5 separate regions of the Homo sapiens genome follow, and regions 1, 2, 4 and 5 are each linked to region 3. The links are contacts of gene promoters, found by promoter capture Hi-C in blood cells and fetal thymus (Javierre and others, 2016). All regions are on one chromosome and are shown on one strand. Each heading gives the region's core, a stretch centred on a gene start or on the middle of the fragment in contact. The rest is flanking DNA. Distances are from core to core; before and after follow the strand shown. Region 1 overlaps PCNX2 (pecanex 2). Region 2 overlaps PCNX2 (pecanex 2). Region 3 holds the start of MAP10 (microtubule associated protein 10). Region 4 overlaps PCNX2 (pecanex 2). Region 5 overlaps PCNX2 (pecanex 2).

Evidence for each region. Contacts are between HindIII fragments. The CHiCAGO score rates a contact against its expected background, and 5 or more counts as called.
Region 1: a fragment that was not itself captured here is called in contact with the fragment with the promoter of MAP10 in region 3 in 5 of 17 cell types (M1 macrophages, M0 macrophages, monocytes and 2 more); the score reaches 9.2 in M1 macrophages.
Region 2: a fragment that was not itself captured here is called in contact with the fragment with the promoter of MAP10 in region 3 in 1 of 17 cell types (M1 macrophages); the score reaches 5.1 in M1 macrophages.
Region 4: a contact is called between a fragment that was not itself captured here and the fragment with the promoter of MAP10 in region 3, in 1 of 17 cell types (M1 macrophages). The highest score is 5.0, in M1 macrophages.
Region 5: a contact is called between a fragment that was not itself captured here and the fragment with the promoter of MAP10 in region 3, in 1 of 17 cell types (M1 macrophages). The highest score is 5.1, in M1 macrophages.

The regions. Positions count from the first base shown.
Region 1 is chr1:233,241,826-233,246,337 of GRCh38, reverse strand. All of the region lies in intron 8 of PCNX2 (pecanex 2), which reads left to right. Among named protein-coding and RNA genes, the nearest start is that of PCNX2, 52 kb to the left of the region's middle. RefSeq lists a silencer at 3,121-3,415. The HindIII fragment of the contact is 4,317 bases long and covers 1-3,681 here.
Region 2 is chr1:233,173,738-233,178,071 of GRCh38, reverse strand. It overlaps PCNX2 (pecanex 2), which reads left to right. Exons shown (of 34, transcript NM_014801.4): 17 at 174-270. Among named protein-coding and RNA genes, the nearest start is that of PCNX2, 120 kb to the left of the region's middle. The HindIII fragment of the contact is 2,048 bases long and covers 1,500-3,547 here.
Region 3 is chr1:232,803,263-232,808,031 of GRCh38, reverse strand. MAP10 (microtubule associated protein 10) reads right to left here and starts at 2,616. Exons shown (of 1, transcript NM_019090.3): 1 at 1-2,616. The coding sequence starts at 2,582. RefSeq lists enhancers at 1,627-2,223, 2,433-2,512, 2,224-2,821. The HindIII fragment of the contact is 4,755 bases long and covers 1-4,179 here.
Region 4 is chr1:233,261,432-233,265,842 of GRCh38, reverse strand. It overlaps PCNX2 (pecanex 2), which reads left to right. Exons shown (of 34, transcript NM_014801.4): 2 at 2,680-2,885; 3 at 3,678-3,798. Among named protein-coding and RNA genes, the nearest start is that of PCNX2, 32 kb to the left of the region's middle. RefSeq lists enhancers at 4,207-4,286, 4,317-4,411. The HindIII fragment of the contact is 4,475 bases long and covers 1-4,382 here.
Region 5 is chr1:233,223,192-233,227,547 of GRCh38, reverse strand. It overlaps PCNX2 (pecanex 2), which reads left to right. Exons shown (of 34, transcript NM_014801.4): 10 at 177-322. Among named protein-coding and RNA genes, the nearest start is that of PCNX2, 70 kb to the left of the region's middle. The HindIII fragment of the contact is 1,260 bases long and covers 689-1,948 here.

The DNA.
Region 1 (4,512 bases), core at 274-2,773, 440 kb before region 3:
GCTGGCCCAGTGTGGAATGGTAGAGAGGAGTGGTGATGACTGCAGTAAATCAGAGGGCATTCATCCCATCTGAAGGGCATTTATCCCATCTGAAGGGCATTTATCCCATCTGAAGGGCATTCATCCCATCTGAAGGGCATTTATCCCATCTGAAGGGCATTTATCCCATCTGAAGGGCATTTATCCCATCTGAAGGGCATTCATCCCATCTGAAGGGCATTCATCCCATCTGAAGGACATTTATCCTATCTGAAGGGCTGCTGCTATGTTAGTCTACTTATGATGGCTCATAAGTCCCAGGTGATAGGATTTTCCGTTTTTTTCCACAGGGAGCTAGAAATGCATATTTGTATCTAAAAGTGTATTTTGTTTCATGTTGTTGATTTTAAGTTTCTTTTGTTTGTTTGTTTGTTTTGTTTTTTGAGATAGAGTCTCCGTCTGTCACCCAGTCTGGAGTGCAGTGGCGCGATCTGGGCTCACTGCAACCTCTGCCTCCTGGGTTCAAGTGATTCTCCTGCCTCAGCCTCCTGAATAGCTGGGATTACAGGCGCGCGCCACCACAGCCGGGCTAATTTTTTTGTATTTTTAGTAGAGACGGGGATTCAACATGTTAGCCAGGATGGTCTCAATCTCCTCACCTCGTGATCCGCCTGCCTTGGCCTCTCAAAGTGCTGGATTGCAGGCGTGAGTCACCACGCCCAGCCGATTTAAATTTTTTTTAACAACACCACAGACCACAGGTTGTGCGTGGTTGGCTGTGGCCTGTGAGCTACCTGTGGTCAGCCTCTGCCCTGCCCCCTCCAGTGGGAAAGCAGCCTCTGCCCTCCTCCCTCAGCCCTTCTTGCACACATGTGCGGCATCCAGATGCCCCTAGGTGATTCCCTGCAGGCTCCTCCAAACCACCTTGCCAAGTTCTCCACTCATTGCTCCCTTTTGAAACTCTCATCTTTGAAAGCTCAAGTTACAATCTGCCTCTGTTATGCTTCTTTTCCTTCTCAGTCCTCTCTGAAATTCATCTCTTCAAGTTGCTGCCAGGAGGATGCTGATCACAGTCTCCCTGGTATCTCATTTATTTGTAGAGGGTTCTCATCTCTTTTTCTAGATTGCATACATCTAAAACCAGCCTTTGCTTAGCCCTTTATAGGTAGGTGCTCAATAAATGTGGGATTAAATCAAATGAATCATTGGAAATGACAAAGATGGCCCAGTTGGAGTTCTGGGGTGAGGGACAGCAGGAGAAGCTAAACAGGAGGGGTGGAGTAGGGCCCTGGGGCCCATGAAACCCGGTGGAGGAGTGTGGTTTGTTCTTTATGCAGCAGGAGTGATGGGAATCTATTTGCAGAGCAAAACAACCCTGATGAATGTGGGATTATCAAAACGACCTCAACAAATAAATCCCTCATCTTTGGTGGGACGGTTGGAGGGAGAGCCAGAAGCACTAGCAGTTTGCCAGATCAATGCATTTGAACACAGAATGTGATCTTCTCCTTTTATAAGTGGGAAGGTACAGCAAAATGAAACATGTAAAATGAGCCTTTTAAAACCAATCTACATAGAAATCAGAGGTGGAGACTCAAATTAAATTTTCCAGTCCTGAGTTTTTATTATTTTTATTTTTAATTTTTTTGAGACAGGGTCTTGCTCTGTGGCCTAGGCTGGAGTGCATTGATGTGATCTCGGCTCACCACAACTTCTGCCTCCTGGGTTCAACAATTCTCCTGCCTCATCCTCTCAAGTAGCTGGGATTATAGGCATGCACCACCACACCTGGCTAATTTTTTGTATTTTTGCTAGAGACGGGGTTTTGTCATGTTGGCTAGGCTGGTCTCGAACTCGTGGCCTCAAAGTGATTTGCCCTCCTCACCTTCCCAAAGTTCTGGGATTATAGGCATGAGTCACCGCACCCAGTCCAGCCCTGTGTTTTATTAGTTCATAAGGAAACAATTTTCCCTGTCTGTATGAAAGCTAACAACAGAGGAAAATCTGACACTGAGAATTTTACTTCCTTGAAATCAGAGGTTTAGTATCTAGCTATGTGAACACAAGTTTTGTCTCGGACTTATCTGGGTTCAAATTCCAGCACTGATATTTACTTTTTGTTTGACGTTATGCAACTTGCTTAACCATCTTAAGTATCCATTTTCTAACCAAAAAATGCAGATAATACTTCTGTAATTAATTCACTGGTTTGCTTTAAAAATTAAATGTGGGCCTGGTGTGGTGGCTCATGCCTGTAATCCCAGCACTTTGGGAGGCCATGGCGGGCGGATCACAAGGTCAGGAGTTCAAGACCAGCCTGATCAACATAGTGAAACCCCGTCTCTACTAAAAATAAAAAATTAGCTGGGCATGGTGGCACATGCCTGTAGTCCCAGCTGCTTGGGAGGCTGAGGCAGGAGAATAGCTTGAACCTGGGAGGCGGAGGTTGTGGTGAGCCGAGATCACGTCACTGCACTCCAGCCAGGGCAACAGAGCAAGACTCAGTCTCAAAAAAAAATAAAAAATAAAAAATAAAGGTGATAGTACACATGCAGTGCTTAGGACAGTGCCTGCCATAGAGGGTCCTCAGTCAGTGTTAGCTGTTGTTACTGTCTTTGGATAGAAGCAGGACTTCAGGTAAACTGCACTGTGACTTGATATACCAAAAGATGTTGACTTTTGTTTCTTGATTTTTATAACAAAATATCTGATTTTATATAACAAAAGAGACTTTTGGCCAGATGGAAGCCTTTCCTCTAGTGCTTTTATGAGTTGATTTATGTGATTTTAAGGCATTCCCCTTAAATACCTGTTGTATTCCAACATCTTGGCATGTATGATAATTTTAGAGTAGGTCCTTTAATATTATGTCCTTGGCTTTTAATGCAATTAGATTTTAAGTTTTCTATTACAGTAAACAAACATAAACTTTGATTTTGAACTTGGAAGGATGCCTACTTGGGGCTGTAAGCCATTCAGCCATGGAAGATATATTGGAAAAGCAGCCTTTTCCCCATAAGGTGACTTCAGTGGCTGGGACTGTCTCCAACTGGGCCATTAAACGGCTGATTCTTATTATTGGCAAAAAAGCCATTCCTCTTAGCTATTGTTGAGCCTTGTTACCGTGTGACAGTTTTATATCCCTGACTCCCAAGTATGAATAGGGAATTGTTAGTAATGTAACTTCCATGTCTCTTTGGGGATTCCTGAAGGAAACTGGGAGAGGAAACAAATTTCTCTCCTTGGCCCCACTGTCACTGTGGGAACCAGTGCGGTTCTTGTGGACTGCTGCAGAAACATAAGCAGCATTTTCCGGTTGTACAATAGCTGTCCATAGAGCAGGTATCTTTGGTAACATTACCTAACACAGTTCTGCTTTCCCCAGAAACCAGAATGAGGAAACTACAGCTTGAATTGCAGCCTTTAGAATTGCTAGTAGGAAAAACTGCCAGAGGATAAATCCACTTGAGTATTTTATTACCCAGAACACAAGATTGATTCAGTAGTTCAGAGCCAAAATGAACTAATTTGCCCAGAAAGTTGGAATTGCTAATCTGCCTAGAAAACCAAAGTGGAAGTAGGCTATCTGCCTAGGAAGTTGGAGGTGAAGCTGCTTAGAAAGTTGAAATGTGTTTTTGAGTGCAGAGGGTTTGTTGCAGAGTGAAGTTTTATTACTACTCAGTAGATCTTGTAATTAAAGCTTGATAGTTTCTCTTTTTTGTTCAGCAAATATTTATATTTCTTTGTGTATAAATGAATCCAAGTAATATAGCAGAGCTTTCTTCTATGGACAATCTATAACCATGTTTAAGTATTAATCTGGCTTTTACGGTGTCATAAGCAATCTAATGGAAATGCATGCAAAATGCATATCATCTGCTCCCCAGTGAAATCTGATTGGAAAGACATGATATTTACATTCATTTTGAGGATCTATAACTCACAAAATAGGCATGGTAGTCTACTGAATGGAAGAGTCATTCTGTAGCAAATTTGTTTGCAGTACTTTTTTGGGGGATTTTTATATCAAGGATGGAACTTCAACTTGTTTTTATTTAAAAAATAAGAGTAGGATGGTAATATAAATATTTATCTGAATTCACTTATTCATGGCTTTTGTTTTTGAATTATCGTAGCAAAGATCTAGCAGATATTTTTAGTTTATAAATTAGGCTTATGTTTGAAAGCTGCCGTATATCTCTGAACCCACTGTGTACCATACTCCAAAGGTGGATTGAAGCCCTGTACTTAATCTTTACTACCTCCTCAGAGTTCTTACTCTTTTGTTGACATTATCAGCTTCTCTGACCCTTATCTCAACAAAACCTCTTACTTATTGGGATTAACTTTCAGGAAAGTCCTCTAAAGCCACAATGTTTAATTATCTACCTGGTTCCCAAAGAAGATAAGCAGGCAGAAAACGGCAATAAATAATCATGTCTGTTTAGACTGTGTTTTTAACTTTAGTCAGAAGAAATAATAGTGACACTCTGACTTGGAATAGCTGAACAGGAATGTGAGGCAATAAAACAA
Region 2 (4,334 bases), core at 1,274-3,773, 370 kb before region 3:
AAAACACTATCTTTATGATCACTTGAACATGCACCTCTTTTTATTATAAATTTTTAAATGAAGAGAGCACTTGTTTTTGTCATGTGTGGGTGTGAGATCTAAGGTGAAGTTATTTACCGAAAACACTGTCCCAGGAACATCTTTGATGAAGTATTGTGTTTTTCCACTTTCAGGTCCTTCATCCAATGCAGGCTGTTTCCTAAATTTTTACATCAAAATCTGGCAGAGTCAGCTGCTGACCCTCTCCCCAAGAAGATGAAAGATTCAGTGGTGAGACATTTGCGTTGTGTAATGTAGCATAGGAGGGCCTCATCTTTCAGCAGAGATCAGGCTCTCAATGGAGCTCTAGGCAGGTGGACATGAGAAGGACTAGGACAGAAAGATACACCTCGCTTGGTACCTGGCACACTGGGCTGTTGAGCTGCCTGCCAGGTGCAGCCCTATTTGAAACGCTTGCTCTCCGGTGCTGTAAAGAATATCACTTGAAAGTAAATTTAACTTACTCAGCAAGGCCATTTTTATACTTTCTGCAGAAAGGGTACACTCGCCAGCAGTTTTGCCATGAGAGTACACCAAACAAAGGAGACAGGGTCATTTATAACCTGACACATCCACCTTACTGCTGTGTCCGGTTTCCATTGGCTGGAATGGGGCCTCACATTCTATATTTGTCCCGATTGGCTAGCAACTTAGAACTTTTTAGAAGAGGCAAAGGTAGAGGAGAACAAAGGAAGGAGGAAGTAACTTGTGGAATGCTAAGAAAGGTAAAAACACCTTTAAATAAGGAAGAGGATCAGGCTATGACCTAATGCTTGCTTGGACCAGTATAAGCATGCCAGAGCAAGTATTTAGGCTAAATTGTGGGAGCTAAGAACATAAAGTACATTGATTTCTTTATCACGGCTAGCAGATATTTAAGAATGTTAGCACAGGTCTTTGAATAAATTTTGCTTCTAAGAGAAGTTACTATTTATTCCTAATTAAATGGGGAGGAAAGTCTTTGAAGAGGAACCTTTACTTTATTTTTTTACAAGCCCTTTAGAGCATCTTTTTTTTTCTTTAGAGACAGAATCTCACTGTCTCCCAGGCTGGAGTGCAGTGGCATGATCTCGGCTCACTGCAAGCTCCGCCTCCCAGGTTCACACCATTCTCCTGCCTCAGCCCGAGTAGCTGGGACTACAGGTGCCCGCCACCATGCCCAGCTAATTTTTTGTATTTTTTTAGTAGAGACGGGGTTTCACCGTGTTAACCAGGATGGTCTCGATCTCCTGACCACGTGATCTGCCTGCCTCAGCCTCCCAAATTGCTGGGATTACAGGCGTGAGCCACCGCCCCCAGCCTAGAGCATCTTGATGGTGGCTGTTGTGCACACATGGTGTGGCCACTTAGGTGGCCCTCAGGTGGCTGCAGTTTGCCAGGATAGTCACATGAATCACATTCAGTCCGTTTTGTGTATTGCTGGCACCAAACAGCAGGTGGGCTCTGCACAAATGAAAGCTTGTCAGATAAACGTTTAGCCAACCTGCCCTCCTGATGTGGTCCACACACAGCTGTTCTCCACATCTTCTCCCCTAAGCACCATGCTTAGTTCAGAGCATTCTTTCAAAGTTGATGTCTGCATAGCGATTGCTTGGGGCCCTTGGACTTTAGACTTATGGCTGGGTCACAGAGAAGGGGGCAACCACACTGGGTGGAGCACGGGAGAAGAAAAGGAAGAAGGAGAGAAAGGAAGGAACAAGAGAATCCTACAACTATAAAATAATGATGCCATTTCCTTGTTCACCAGGATAAGGGCTCTGGACAGCTTCAAAAGTTCTTTTAGCAGATGTCGTTTCTTTGGTATCAACTTACAAACATTCATACTTTGAAACACAATGCTCATTAATTGTGTAAGCTCCCATACATCTGAGTATTGAGCTTGGAGCCTCTGATGTCCTTGACTCACACTTTTCCTGGTTTTCTTAGGAATGACAGATAAAAGGAAAAGAGAAATAGTCTGTTGATCCAGCCAGGACTGTGTCTCATTTGTCTTGATATCCACAGAGCCAGTGCCCGGTGTTACAGTGGGTGCTCAGTACAGTTCATGGAATTTCGATGAATTTAATTGCAGTCTGCCATTTCAAGACGACGTACAGGACTCACAGCCAACATGATAGCCTTAAAAAAATTCATACTCAGCTTTTGTGCCTTTGAGTGTGGTCAGAATTCAAACTAGTATTAAGGCTTTTTTTCCACTACAAGGGAATCAAAGGACAAATCACTTAATATGAGTAAGGGCATAGTTCATGAATTTTAGGAGCAGAGATACATTTAAAAGCAGGTTAAAAGTCAAAGCAGCTGGGCCTGATGAGATGGCAGCTTAAAAAAAAAGAGAAATATTTGACATAAGCCTAGCATCCACAACCTGACCTCTAATATTTATACCAGGAGACTTACAGGGAGAAGGTCAAACTGACATTCCTACAGCATTTTCTGTAAAAGCCGTAGGGTGGCCCAGAGTCTACCCAAAAGTCTCCCCATGGATATCTGAGAAAAACTATGCCCTTCAATCTTCCTTGATTTCATGACTAATGAAGATGCATTTCTACTTTCTGATTTATTGCAGTTAAAAAAAAGGTAGGAATTACAAGGAAATTTGACAAGAAATTTGCCCAGCAGAGGTTGATAGTATTTCATTGGTATAATTAGATGTGATGGGCTAGGTGTTGCCTCCCTTGGTTTTCATACCCTTTGAAATGCTTTGTACAGTGTGGAGCACATAACTTGTTAGGTGATTTAATAAGATGTTTGTGTTCATTTCTCTGAAAAGTCTCTGGCCTAATTATAATATTTTAATGGGAATATCACATTCAGCTTTTAGAGTTTGATATAATACCTTCTGTGACACTGTGCAAGCATAAACCCCCCTCCCATTGTCTCTGATTTTGTTTCTCTGTGTCTCCAGCTCTTATTTTCTCTGTCTGTCTGTCTCTCTTCTTGAGTTTTAGTCTGTATGAGAACCCCTCAGGGAGCCTCATTAGATTTCAGTTTTCTAGCCCTCTGCCCATATTCTGATTCATCTGGCCTGTGAGGGGGTCTGAGGATCTTCATTTTAACAAGAATGTTCACCCAGGTGATTCTGTTTAGGTGATCCACAGATTGCACTTCAGGAAACATTGATCTAGAAACAGAGATATACCAATGGGCCTATACATTTGCATATGAGCAAGATAAGTTATGCACACAAAGTTTATCACCAAAATTCATTACTTAATAAAGATATAAACTTTCCGCTAATGGTTTACCTGGTTAGTCTTTTTCTATTTGTCTTATTAGCACAGACTCTTTTAACTTTCATATCTTTGTCATTTTCAACACCCTTTATTATGTTTAGATTTGTTTGTTTCACTGTATCAATTTTCTTCAGTTCCTAGAAACAAAAAAAAGCCTATTTAATTCTTATGTGTAAAATTCAAACAGTCTTTTCCTAAATCATTGGTTATAATATCTAGATTTTTCTGGTCCCATGCTGCTAGATGTGGAATGTTGGAACAGGGGTTCTTAAGCTTCCTTTGAGAGTTGGAGTGTGAAGTACTATATAAAATGCCACAGTGAATTTAAAATGTTCAGTATATGAAAAGCTAATATATTTCTTAGTTAAACATGCACGGATTTACCATAAATCCAAAAATTTATATATAAATTTATATATAAATTTTTCATTTTTTTCTCTTTGCAGCCTTACACTGGCCAGAACTTCTAAAACAATATTCAATAATATTAATAGTTTGCTATTTTACATTATATAAAATATAAATTATATATTACATATTATATATAATTTATATAAAATATAAATTAAATATATAACATAATTTTTATATAATATATAATATAAATTAAATACATATTTATTATAATACTATATAATATATAAAATATGTTATATATTACATATAATATATAATTTATTATATATAATATACAAATTAAATATATTTATATATAATTTTATATATTATATATAAAATTTAAATTATATATTTGTTTTATGTATATATAAAATGAAAAGCAAAATAGTAAAGAGTAAAGAGCAAAGAGAAAAAGAAAAAAATGATGATTTATATGTGTATATAAAACTTTTCTGTGCATACTATATAATCAACTATGATTAATAAGAGTATTCATAAATACAACCAGAGAAAAGAAAATTTAGAAAAGCAAGAACTTTCTAACATACCAGAAATAACCTATGAAAATGTGATCCAACTCACAATACCAACAAAATGTCTGAATTGATAATGGAAATGATTTCTAACAAGTAGTGTCACAAATAAAGTAAACTAACTACCGCA
Region 3 (4,769 bases), core at 1,367-3,866:
TCGGACACATTTGAAGGCAGGTAAGAACTCACCTGGGATGTTTGTGGTGACTGGCTTTTTTCTAAAGATTTCCAACTACTTCTTGTTTTAACAGAGATGTCTTGAGCTCTCTTTGTAATTTCAGAATTGTGCATACTATTTTGATCTATCTGGTTTTCTTTTTGTTCAGTCCAATGTGTTGAAGATAAATCACTAGCAGAGATACTAGATGCTTCCTCCAAACTTTTATCCTGAGTCTTTGAAATATGAAATTTTCTGTATGAGTGTACAGGTGACCCGGCTGAAAAAGGTGGGCTAAGGATAGAACTCCTGTCACTACTATTTTTCTTTTTGGACACTCCTGTGTCACTAGACTTGCTTGTATATTGACTATGTTTTGGATTTTCTGTCCTTGAACTGCTATCATGAGCTTTGAAACTTCTGCTGGTGTCCTCACTGGTACAGAAATCTTCAGAATAGCAAGGGCTAGACAAATCATCTGAATACTTCAGTTCTGAGATGTTTTCATAGCAACTATTTTTACCTGTTCTCTTGTCACTTATATCAGCCATAAGAATGTCATTATCTGTGGTTTTGACCTGTCTAATATCTATTTCCTTATCTACAATTCTGTCAACAACAGCATCCTGTTGGAAAACACATGGACTTTGGATTTTCATTTCCACATTTCCTCCCAGAATATTTGTAGGGGTAAGCCTTTCTGGAATAATGGAATTTGCAGGACTCACAACTTCTTCCAATGAAACATTATTGATTCTATTTTTACTACAATCAACTGTCTTTTTTTCAGTTGCATATTTCAGTTTAGTTTCTTTACTTGTGCTGGGCTCATCAAAAACTCCACTGATTTGTCTTGAGGTATCACTATTTTCAGTGAAAGATGCATCTGAATCTAAATACTTATCTTCAGGCAGTTGTGGCTTCTGACTTTGTTCTGCAGAGCTTAATAGTTTAACTTTGGATGACGGAATTCTGAATTTTGTACCCAACATTTGTGATTGTCTTTTTCTATATAGTTCTCTTTTTTCATGTACCACCAACATATCAGGATTTGTCAGCTTTAAACGTAGTCTTAGTGTATTTGTTAAGCCATAAAGTAGCCTCCCTTTTGGAACTCTTTTATGGAGGGCACCACTGCTCTTTTCAGAATATTTATCTTCCTTATAGTTTTCAATTTGGTTCTTTTTATACTGAAGACTCACTGACTTTTCACATCCCCCCACAGAACGCTTATCCTTCTTGGCTTCAGACCGGCATGTGGATTTGGCAGAAGATTCGGGTGACTTCTTATCCTCAGTCCTATATAACCAGGCTAGGTGAGGATGTATATGAGCAGGACTTGTCACAGGTTGGTCATATAACAAGGACAACTCAACTAACAAAGCATTTAACAAAGGCAACTGCCTTATTGTATTAATTCGATTTTGTTCAGTTTGACATGTTTGATTAGTTGCTCCTATATTCTGAATATGTGGAGGATTTACAAGCATTGGAGGATGTTCGTGTGCTGCAGAACTTGGATGCTTTAGACAACTCCTGTGTGCTGGGGGATTTACACGCTTTTTTTCAGGAGAAGCATCATCCATTTCCTCAGGTGCATTCATTTGAGGCTCAATGGTGATTTTAGCCTGTGCAGGGGGCGGTTTTTCTTGGGTCAAGTTAGTGTAATACAAAGGAGGAGGGCAAAATATATTGGTCTCCATGTCCAATTCTGTGACTTCCTCATTTAGGGAGCTAACATTTCTCCCATTGCCAGCACCTGAACATGTAACAACAGAATTGGTTTTGCCATTCTCCACAGAACCCACATTATCACATTCGGCCTTACTTTTAACCATTTCCTTCAAATCCTTCTGTGCCTCTGGGATTTCTAACTCCCCCAGCGGCTTATCAGCCTCTTTTGGGCTTGGCTGTGAGGCTGGCTGCTGCAGCTGCTGTCTTTCCTGCTGGGTTTGGGGACTGACCTCCGCTCCTCCTCCTGTGCGGGTGAAGGTGAGGGGCCGCTCAAGTTGGCTCAGCAGGCGGCTTCCCAGGTCAGTCAGGCGGTAGGCCAGTGCAATGTCCCCAGTCCGCTCGCCCACTCGATTATGCAGGGGGAAACGTCCCCGGTGACGGTGGGAGCATCCGGAGGCGGCCGGCCCCACGACCCTGTGCGCTGCGGTGGCCAGCGAAATGTCGCAGGCCCCCAGGAGCTGTGGGGTGGGCGTCGGGCGCCCAGGGGGCAGCTGCAGCAGCAAGGTGGCAAGCGGGGTCCGCAGGAGCCGGCAGTGCAGGGTAGCAGGCTGCAGGCGGAAGAGGCAGGACTTGCCGCGACCGAAGCGGATGACACCGGGCCACGGTTCGGCGGCGGGAGCGCCGGGGCCGTCAGGAGGGTAAACCAACAGCGTGGGGAAGTCCAGCAGGCGGAAGGCCACGGCGGGGCACAGACCGCGCGGCGACGAGGCCTCCCCCTGCTCCTTTTCCTCCTCTTCCTCCTCCTGCTCCACTGCGGCAGCGGGGGACGGCAGCAGCCGGGCTTCCAAACGCACCCAGTCCACCAGCAGCTCCAGCGAGAAGAGCCGCTCGGACAGCGAGGCCGCCATTGCTGTTGCCCCAGGAAACGCCGCCGCGGGCTCCGCAAACGAGAAGCTGAAGCCCCGGGGTCTCACGAGAAACCGGAGCAAAAGGCATCGCTGCCTGCTATCTCGCGAGATTTGCGGAAGCGCTCCAGCGGGTCTCGGGCGGTGTCTGCTTTGGGGGTTTTGCTGCTCAATGTGTTTGGCCCCTTTGTATGCATACTTGTGAGCCGTTTTTTGCCACCAACCTTGTATTAAGACAATTGATGATAATGCTGAGGATATAAGTGGTAAAAGACAGTGAGTTTTTTGGGTAATGGTTTTATCACTGCAGATCTTATGTAACTTGGGGGTCAGATCAATATACCTGAGGAATATTGAAAGAAAATCAGGACTCTCCTTCCTTTCCCATGCTAAACAGAGCCAGTTAGTTAACTGTCCACAGTGGGCCATCTCTGTGTCTGCTGTTCTACCCAAAAGATGGTGACACTGCTGGGATGGCCAGGGAGCCCCTGCCTCATCAATTACAGTAGTACTGAGACAGACACACCACACACACACGGAGTGTGAATACACTGGCAAAAACTCTCCTTGGCTGAACTTTGGTCAGGCTCATCTAAGCCTTCTTTCCGACTAGGCCTTGACCTTGGCTTCCAATCCTGTGGACCCTGGATCACCGAGTTGTAGCAAAGGTCTCGCTACGGCTGTTGAGAGAGAACCCCCAACCCTTCATACCTGATTACCGTCGATACCTGATCAAATTCTTCATTTTCTATCATTGGTATCTGACCACCCTGGCCTGGCTTCAGCAAGAATCCTATTAGGCCTGCTTAATCAGAACCCTCCCACCCGTGATGTTCCCTATCAGTAAGTTTCCATCCACTTGACCTGACGCCCCCTTGGCTTTAAATCCCCACTTGTCCATGCTGTAATTGGAATTGAGCCCAGCTCTGTATTGAGGTCTCTTTTCTCTTATTGCAGTAGTTCCTGACTACAGTGTTTTTGCCACTTCAACTACTGTCTGGCCCTGTTTTTTATTTGACAACATTTCCAGCTAAGCAATCATGATGCATGAGAGTAATGTTAATGATTCCATCAATAAAACAAATGTGTGTACATAAATATACACACATCTACAGAGACACACAGAACTTGCTGCTCTATCCAGATATTTTAAGAAACATACTCCTAACCTCAATGAGCTAGCCAGCTAGGAATCCAAGGCCAGTTTTTGGAGAGCCTTGAATGCCATGGTAAAGAATTTGGACTATATTCTGTCCAAATTTTTTTGATTGAATAAGTACATCATAGCAATATTTGGAAATGTATCATGGGGAGGAATACAAAGGATGGATTCTACTAATTAGAAATTGGATTCAGAGCAATCTATTAGAAGACTACTGCAGTGGTCTAAGAGGCAGATAATTATGACCTGCACATGGTCAGGACTAGTGGAAATTAAAAAGAGGTGGCAGAAGAGGCATTTGTGATGGAGGAATTTTAAAATTTGGTGAATGGGAAAGAAAAGTCATGGGTGAAAAACTTCTGCTACTGAAGGTGAAAATATTGAGGAGGCACAGATTTGACGGAAAAAAATACTTTGAGTTTTGAGATATGTAAAGCTTGAGGTACCTGCTGCTGGGCATTATATATGTACCGCTTTATTCAGCTTTATAAATTATAGTTAAATTATATTGCTTCAGTGCTCAGAAGAACATTGTGAAGCTCAAGAGAAATTCAGAACTGGAGGGATATGATGCTTTAGTGTGAAGACGTGAGAGAGAAGTCTCATTGCAATATATAAATACAAGATACTTCTCGGACCAGATGCGGTGGCTCACGCCTGTAATCCCAGCACTTTGGGAGGCCGAGGCAGGCAGAACACGAGGTCAAGAGATCGAGGCCATCCTGGCCAACATGATGAAACCCCGTCTCTACTAAAAATACAAAAATCAGCTGGGTGTGGTGGTGCATGCCTGTAATCCCAGGTACTTGGGAGGCTGAGGCAGGAGAATCGCTTGAACCAGGGAGTTGGAGGTTGCAGTGAGTGAGCCGAGATCGCACCACTGCACTCCAGCCTGGTGACAAAGCGAGACTCCATCTAAAAAAAAAAAAAAAAATTACAAGATACTTCTCTTGGCTTTGAGAATCTTGCTATATACTTGCAGAGGACACATATCAAGCAACATCCTCAATGGATAGATGATGTAGAGC
Region 4 (4,411 bases), core at 896-3,395, 460 kb before region 3:
AGAGCCCTATACAATTTTTTATCTCTTACTCTTCTTCCCTTCCATTCTTTTCTCAGTGCCTTAGGGTTTTCTCAATTTATCTCTAATCTAATTTGAATGGAAGATTCCTCATGAAAATGGACCCCCCTGTTATTAATTAAGTATTGCTAGCTTCCACAGCGGCCACAACTCCAAATCTCAGTGGTTTAATGACTCAAAAGTTTACTACTTATTCCGTTATGGGCTCATCTTGTGTTTATAGGGGCCTTGCTCCGCAGAGTTACTCAGGTACCTAGTCTGAAAGAAACTGCATCATCTTATAGACATATCATCTGGAAAACATGTCTTCTGAGGTCACCAAGTAAAGAGGAAAAGAGTGGGATGCGGGAGGCACCTAGCTCATAATTGTCTAAGCCAGCACTTGTGCTCATTGTCCATTGGGCAAAAGTAGTCATATGGCCTCAGCCTCACTGCAAGAGAAGCTAGGAAATGAAGAGGAGAGGATGGAGTATTTAGTGATCACTAACTCTCTTTGCTACCCTTGCTGACTAGAGTACTATGAAACCCTAGTTACATGAAAATTCAACAATCTCTTGAATATAATTCCTTTTTTTTTTTTAGAGAGGGTCTCACTTGGTAGCACAGGCAGGAGGAGTACAGTGGCATGATTATAGCTCACTGTAAACTTGAACTCCTAGGCTCAAGAGGTCCTCCCACCTCAGCCTCCCCAGTAGCAAGGACTATAGGTGCATGCCACCACACCTGGCTAATTTTTAAATTTTGTAGAGATCGGAGGGGGGGTCTCACTATGTTGCCCAGGCTGCTCTTGAACTCTTGGGCTCAAGCAATCCTTCTGCCTTGGCCTCCCAAAGTGCTGAGATTACAGGCATGAGCCACTATGCCTGGCGGAATATCATTTTTATATAACAATAATCTGTTTTCACGGACATCTGCAGGTTTTCTTTTCCTTCTTACCCTCTTCAAATTAACTCTCTAGATTTAGCTTAAATTTTTGAAACCCAAAACTATTAGTAGTATTTAATTTAGTGGTATTTAAATTAGTAGTATTTTAACGTATTAGTAGTATTTAGGATGTAAATATAAGGTTTATATTTACAAATGCACCTTTTGTAAATATAAACCTTATCTGCTGCCAGGTAGTGGACCTGGCTTTATTATCTAGCTTGTATCATCTTATATAGTTATTCCGTCACTTATTTATTGCTTGCTTTATATTTATTTGTGGACTTTTCCCCCCATGACATAATAAGAGCGAGTTAAGTGATGGTGAAAATCTCTGACTTTATCTTTTACTTGTTGATCATCTTCCTCTTTCTTTTTTGTGCTCTGTTTGGCTATTCCATTTTAGGGACAGTCCAACTTGGAAGATAGACTCTTGCATGGGACCACGGCAAGCTGTACAGGGTCTGCTTAGGCATGGATATGGACTGGGCCCTGCTGTCTGCAAGCCTAGCTATGTTTAGGTTGAGGCACCAGCTACACGGATCACTGGATTTCTGATATTCTTTAGGGAAGTCCATTGATAAAATGGTCTTGCGAATCATTGAGGCTGTCCTGGATATCACCTTGGGACACTTGGGGATCTCTTTCCATCCCAAAGAATAGGAATGTAGTTTAGGAAGGACCAGAGAACGTGTGATAGTCCATGGTCCTGGAGAGAATTAGGAAGGTATATGGGAGATGCTACAGAGTGGGACAACTCCACGGGTCCCAGTGATTCTTTTCGTTTTGTTTCTTGAAGGGATTGCATAGAATTGAGCTGAACCTCACTATGGTCGCCATGCTCAGATCATTTGTCTCTGCTGGAAATATCCCTCTTCCTTTTGGAAGTAGTACCCTTTTGTGGTTCCCTGTGTGCAATACAACCCTAGGGAAATCCATGGCCTGCAGGCGTTATCGCAGTGGGAGGTTAGGGAGGGGAATGGGGGAGTGGTTACCCTAACCTTTCTCCCTTCTTTTTCCTTCTGTTCTCCACAAGGCTTTTTGTGTTTTGTTGTTGAAAACAAAATACATCTCTGGCCTTTAAGATGAGCTGCATAGGAAGATGCATTGGATTAGGCCATAGATAAGAGCTTATCAAACATGGAGGCCGGGTACAGTGGCTCACACCTTTAATCTCAGCACTTTGAGAGGTCGAAGTGGGCGGATCACCTGAGGTCAGGAGTTCGAGACCAGCCTGGCCAACATAATGAAATCCTGTCTCTATTAAAAATACAAAAATTAGCCGGGCATGGTGGTGAATGCCTGTAATCCCAGCTCCTCGGGAGGCTGAGGCAGGATAATTGTCTGAGCCCGGGAGGCGGAGGTTGCAGTGAGCCGAGATCTTGCCACTGCACTCAAGCCTGGGTGATACAGTGAGACACTGTCTCAAAAAAAAAAAAAAAAAAAAATGGAGAGGTTTCCTCGAATATATCTTTTGTTCTGTGGGGTTCCTGCCTGCAAATCAAATGTTGGTTATCAGTGCAACTACTACAGAACCTGAGAAACAAAAAAGACTTCAAAAAATAAAAAGCAGCTCTTTCTCCTCAAGTATTTTAACCAGGAAAACTTAAAAAATTAGTCTAATTTGAAATCTTGCCTAATTTATATTCAATAGATAGTCTAAAAATGCTTCCAGATTTAAAACAGAAAGAAAATCTTAAAAGCAAATGATTTTTCTCTGTCTTTTCCTTTCTTCAGGCTTTTCCTCCAAATGCGATCATTGTATTTTTCTACTGCAGTGCAGTGACTATATTCTTCACAATAATCAAACTGGTCAGTTATCGCCTACACCTCATGTTTGACAAAGGAGAAGTAATTCAGCAAAAGCCCTCCAGAAAGGAAGAAAAGCCAAATAAAGACAAGGAGGCCAAAGGTGAACACATAACTAATCACAGAAATCCAAGGTAATATTTTCAATTAATGTGACACTTCAAAATGTAAATGTTTTGCTCTTGATTAAAATAAGTTTTTTATCAGTGTTTATGAAATTACTAGTATAGGCAGACAGAAATATATGCATTTTTCTTATATTTCAGCATATACTTAAGCATAAAATTGATATTCATAATCAAGATGGTTTAACTGGCTTCCCAATAAATGTCTTTTTGGGAAGTCAATATGACCTTCTCATAAGATCTAGAATTCATTTGCCTTAGGCTTAGCACTGCAAAAAATTTCCCTTCACTGCTTTTAATGTTGTTATTTAAATGCTTAGAGCATGCCAGAGTATTTTAAAGAACAGCATTTGTGTTTGTTGATATAAAAGTAATACATTACATAGAACTGAAATATTAAGAGTAATTCTTGAGTTAGCATTCTTTTCACCATTCTTGTATTATTTCTTATAGCTCCTTAAGATAGCATGTCCTCTAATTTAAAAATAATGTTTATTATAAGATTTATCTGCTGCAGATGGTGGCTTATGCCTGTAAACCTTGCATTTTGGGAGGTTGAGGTGGGAGGATCACTTGAGTCCAGGAGCTTGAGGCTGCAGTGAGCCATGATCGTGCCACTGCATTCCAGTCTACCCAGACAGAGCGAAGCCCTGTCTCTTAACAACAACAAAAAAAGATTTATATGTAAGGAATATAACAAAATGGACTCTAGGAAAAAAAGTTTTTAGACTAGTACTAAAAGAGTCATGCTTCTGTTTGATAATATCGCTCACTGCTCTTGTGTTTCTCATGTTGGGTTAGCAATAATAGGCAGATTCACAATGGCAAAAAGGAAGAGGCCAGTCGAAACCTCTCCACGCCTCCCCTCCGCTGCAGCTCCAGAGGGCAAAGCATAACCTCTCATCACTCTTCTGGGCCATTGGTTAGTGGTCTTCTTTCCTGTTTCACCCTCTTCATGTGATTTCGATGTTGATCTCACCTAGAATGGGAGTGTTCAGCAGCAGTGATTGTAGCTTGCATGCTGTAATCACTGGCCCGTGTACAGTGGAATATCACATCCCAGGGTCTGGAAATGGCCTGAAGGGTGCCCTTGGGACCATAAAATAAATGCCCAGTCGTGTGTTCAAAGCACACTCTCTGGCCTTCCCTGCCGTCCACCTGCGCTGCTGGGTCAACCACACTGGGCAGAGAACCAATATGTAGGCCTTTGCTTCTTTCTGTTGTCATTCATTTAAGTCATCATATCTGCAGTGCCTTCCACCTGAAATGGATATCACCTCTGCTTTCCATTTTAAATCACACTTGTCTTTTTGGGAAGTCAATAAATCACCTTTTTTCTAGATTAACTTTGTTGAGCTCCATTCACTATAGTGTAAGTAGTGGCTTCTTCCTTCTTTGCTTACTTTCTTAGTAGCAAATCTCCCTTTGTCACAGTACAGTTGTCTCGGTTGAATGTCCACATTTACATATGTTTGTATCCATTCTGGGCCCCATTTTATAGAAGCTTAAGGAGAGTGAACACTGTATTGTCTCTC
Region 5 (4,356 bases), core at 69-2,568, 420 kb before region 3:
TAGTTTGAATGAAATATGTTGGTTTACATATCAGAATTTGAACATTTGCTTTTTGTATTTTTAAATTATGGTGTACATATATATGTGTGTGTGTGTATACATATATATATATATTTGTGGCCATGCCATGACAACATAAAGCCCTTTTTTCTGTTGTTTCTTTTGGTATCTAAAAGCATGTGAGTCAGGATCTGGAAGCCTCGTCATGTTCTTCAACACAAGGAAAATTTAACCGAGAGCAGTTTTACAAATTTATCATTTTCCCTGGCAAGTGGATTAAAGTCTGGTATGATCGACTGACCTTGCTGGCATTACTTGATCGGTAAGCCACTGAGCATGCACACACACTGTCGGAAGGCACACCGGGGACGTGACAGTGCCCACTGCATGCTTTCAAAGAGAACATTGTCACTTGCACATTTTCAAGTTGTACGCTTCCTTTGCTGACAACCCAAAGTTAAAGCAAAAAGATCCTGACAACAAATTGTAGTTCAGCAGTTACAATGAGAAATAAGAGAGTTACAATAAGTAACTCTTATTAATAATAAATTAACATATTAATAATAAGAGATAATGAGAAATAATAAGTTACAATAAGAAATAAGAAATGGTTTGTATTTAAGGTTTGTTTGGGCACAGTAGCATGCTTTGGTGTACTCACGTCTTGCCCTATTTTTGTGGGAAAGCTTGAGGCCCATCTGTAGCACAGGGCCTGGCTTGACTGGGTGTGGGCATGGGGAGAGGAGGGAAGATGAAGTAGGGTGATTTCTGCCTCTTTCCCGGACACCTTGGATTCTTATTGCTCACTTGTATCTGATGTACACTCACTTGAATGTTAATTTTTCCTTTAATCTCCTTTCCCCTTTCTCACCTCCTCCTACCACTGTTCCATACAGCAAAACGTTGTGGGGTTGGAGCTGTGGTTACTGGGTAGGGAGAAAGAGGAGGAGAAGTTAAGGTTAGTTAAAACATGATGGAGGCTGGGCATGGTGGGTCAAGCCCGTAATCCCAGCACTTTGGGAGGCTGAGGCGGGCAGATCACCTGAGGTCAGGAGTTCAAGACCAGCCTGACCAACATGGTGAAATCCTATCTCTACTAAAAATACAAAAATTAGCCGGGTGTGGTGGTGCATGCCTGTAGTTCCAGCTACTCAGGAGGCTGAGGCTAGAGAATTGCTTGAACCCAGGAGGCGGAGGCTGCAGTGAGCTGAGATTGTGCCACTGCACTCCAGCCTGCACAACAAGAGCAAAACTTAATCTCCCCCCCACCCAGAAAAAAGAAAACATGATGGAGATGGGCCTAAGGAGTGGGGGCTTCTCATTTGTATCTTTTCCTACCTCAAAATTTGCACATAACAGTTTATGATGTTCAGGGGCTGAGTAGCACTGACTACACGGTTGGCTTGAAAATTTCAGATGCTATTACTAATGCTGCCATAAGCAATTGCTGAGTTTCACAGTTTAATGCCAGCTCTTGGGGGCAGTGGAAAAACTGGTTGCCTGTCTTGTTGTCATTGGTCCCCCAGTGACTGGTTTTTATAGTAATGTCTTAAATAGTGTGATCACATATGAAAAAAACTATAGTCATGCAAAATTACAACAGTAAATTTCAGGACCCACAAGTCAGGGAATGGAGTTATAATGGTTTTCCTAACAACACTATGTTACCCAAGGGGCACACACTTAGAAGGAACATTTAATACTTAACTAAAAATCCAAGATAGTATATTCTGGTAAATGAGGCATTTTTGAAATATTAATTATTTTCTGTTAAAAAGAAATTATTGAAAGTTGGACTAGCTTGCATTAACCCTTCATGTCAAAACAAAAATAAATGTATCTATAGATTTGTCTGTTATTTTAAAATCTACTTGGTGACAAAAAATTAATTGGAAATCCATTGGAAGTCTAGGAAGGATGATGAGGATGACCGCACTTTTTAAAAGCTTATGTTTTCATTATTTTAATCACCTTTCTGGCAAGTTACAATGGGTTTTTAAATGTTGTGCTTAGGGATGACCTAGAAATAGCACCATTCCCTTATCCATAGATCCTTCAGCTGGTTGGGGAATCCCTGGACTCGAGTCAGCCTTGGGAATTAAACCTGGTCCCTACTACTTATTAGTGCTATGATCTTAGGATGGCTATGAAACCTTCCAGTGCGTCCGTTTCCTATCTGTTAAATGGGTATAATCTATACACAGGGAGGTTGTAAAGATTAAATCAATTTAGTCATTGAAAGAGTTCTTTAAATATTAGTTGCTCCTATTATTATTATTATTACTTGGAATGTGGCCCAGCTCCCAGAAAGAAGAAAAATTAAAAATAAATAAAATTAGGCTAGCCAAAGTAGATGTTGTCAAATCCAGACACTAAAATTTAGACTGTTAGTTCATAGGTAACATAACATTTTTTTTTTTTTTTTTTTTTTTTTTTTACTTTAGTTCTGGGATACATGTGCAGAACGTGCAGGTTTGTTACACAGGTATACATGTGCCGTGGTGGTTTGCTGCACCTATCAACTCGTCATCTAGGTTTTAAGCCCCACATTCATTAGGTATTTGTTCTGATGCTCTCCCTCCCCTTGCCCCCCAAACCCTGACAGGCCCCGGTGTGTGATGTTCTCCTCCCTGTGTCTATATGTTCTCATTGTTCAACTCCCACTTACGAGTGAGAATATGTGGTGTTTGGTTTTCTGTTCCTGTGTTAGTTTGCTGAGAATGAGGCAACGTCACTTTTAATTCAGAGCCATATAAGCCTACCAAAAGTCATCAGTTAGCAGGATTGGTGATCTGGTTTTATAATTTAGAGTCAATTAAAATAAGGAAAGGGACTACATGAACTCACAGCTCACAGTGAGGAAGGAGGAAGAAACCCAAAATACTGACCTAGAAAAACTGAGCTGTTTGGGACCTTTGCAAGGAGAGCATAATCCCCAAACAGGGCTGTGGGTCGGAATCATTGGGGAAGCTGGGTAAAAATGCATAATATGCATAATAAAAACAAACTGTAAGAGCTAGGCAGGAAGCGGAAGAAAGCAGTGGGTAACAAGCACTAAAATTGCAGTAATCATTGCTATAAACTCCCATAGATTAAGTCATCCTGCATGACATTCTTCAAAAGAGTCAGGCTGTTCTTCCTTAAAAATGTTTTCTTAGTCTTTGGGCAGTAGTTTCATGGTTCCTGCCGTTGCAGTTCCAGCTATTTGCCTGCAGTTCTCCACCTATTCTACTCAGATGTTTCTGGACTTGTCCTATTCTCCTTACTTATATTCTCTGATTTCATATCTTGCCATTACCCTTTCCTTCAAAACACTGAGGGTTTATTTTCATTTATCTAGTCGATCAGGTCAGCATCTGAAATAAGAAGTTGCCCTTCTGTGCATTATTTCAACATTTCATTCATTCAACAAATATGAACCAAAGCACCTGTTCCGTGCTAGGATCTGTACTGGGCACTGGGTATGGAGTGATAAATAAAACAGCCATTGTCTCTGCCCTTATGGAACTTACTTTCTGGGAGAGGAGAGAAAACTGTAATAGGTGCCATGAAGGAAGCACATAAAGGCCTGAGATAGAGAGACCTGAGAGGGAAGGGCACTGATGTTCGAACTGGTGGTTGGCAAAGGCTTTTCTGGGGAAGATACACACAAACTGAGATATAAAATGAGAGGTAGCTAGCTATATGACAAGTAAAGAGGAAATCATTCATGCTTCTCAAACTAAACTAATTGTCATCAGTTACCATGAGAACACACACTTATAGCTCTCATCCTTAAAAATCCTGTCTTAAAACCATCATTCTCAGCAAACTAACACAGGAACAGAAAACCAAACACCGCATGTTCTCACTCATAAGTGGGAGTTGAACAATGAGAACACATGGACACAGAGAGGCAAACATCACACACCGGGGCCTGTCAGGGGGTGGGGGACAAGGGCAGGGAGAGCATTCGGACAAATAGCTAATGCACGCGGGGCTGAAAACCTAGATGACGGGTTGATGGGTGCAGCAAACCACCATGGCACATGTATACCTATGTAAAAAACCTGCACGTTCTGCACATGTATCCCAGAACTTAAAGTATTTTTTTAAAAATCCTGTCTTACCCCACTTTTTTACCAGCCACTGTCCTGTTTCTCTGCTCCTCTTTGCAGCAAAACTCCTTGAAGGGTTGCCTGTGTTTGTTTCCATTTGCTCCTTTCATTCTCTAATAATCCTGTCCCATTCAGGCTCCCCCAACCTCAAAACTCCGTTGAACCTGCCCTTGTCAGGGTCACCGTTGATTCCATCTTTTTCTTCTCACGTTACTAGACTCATTTGGAGTATTTGACAGAGTTAATTTCTCCTACTGCC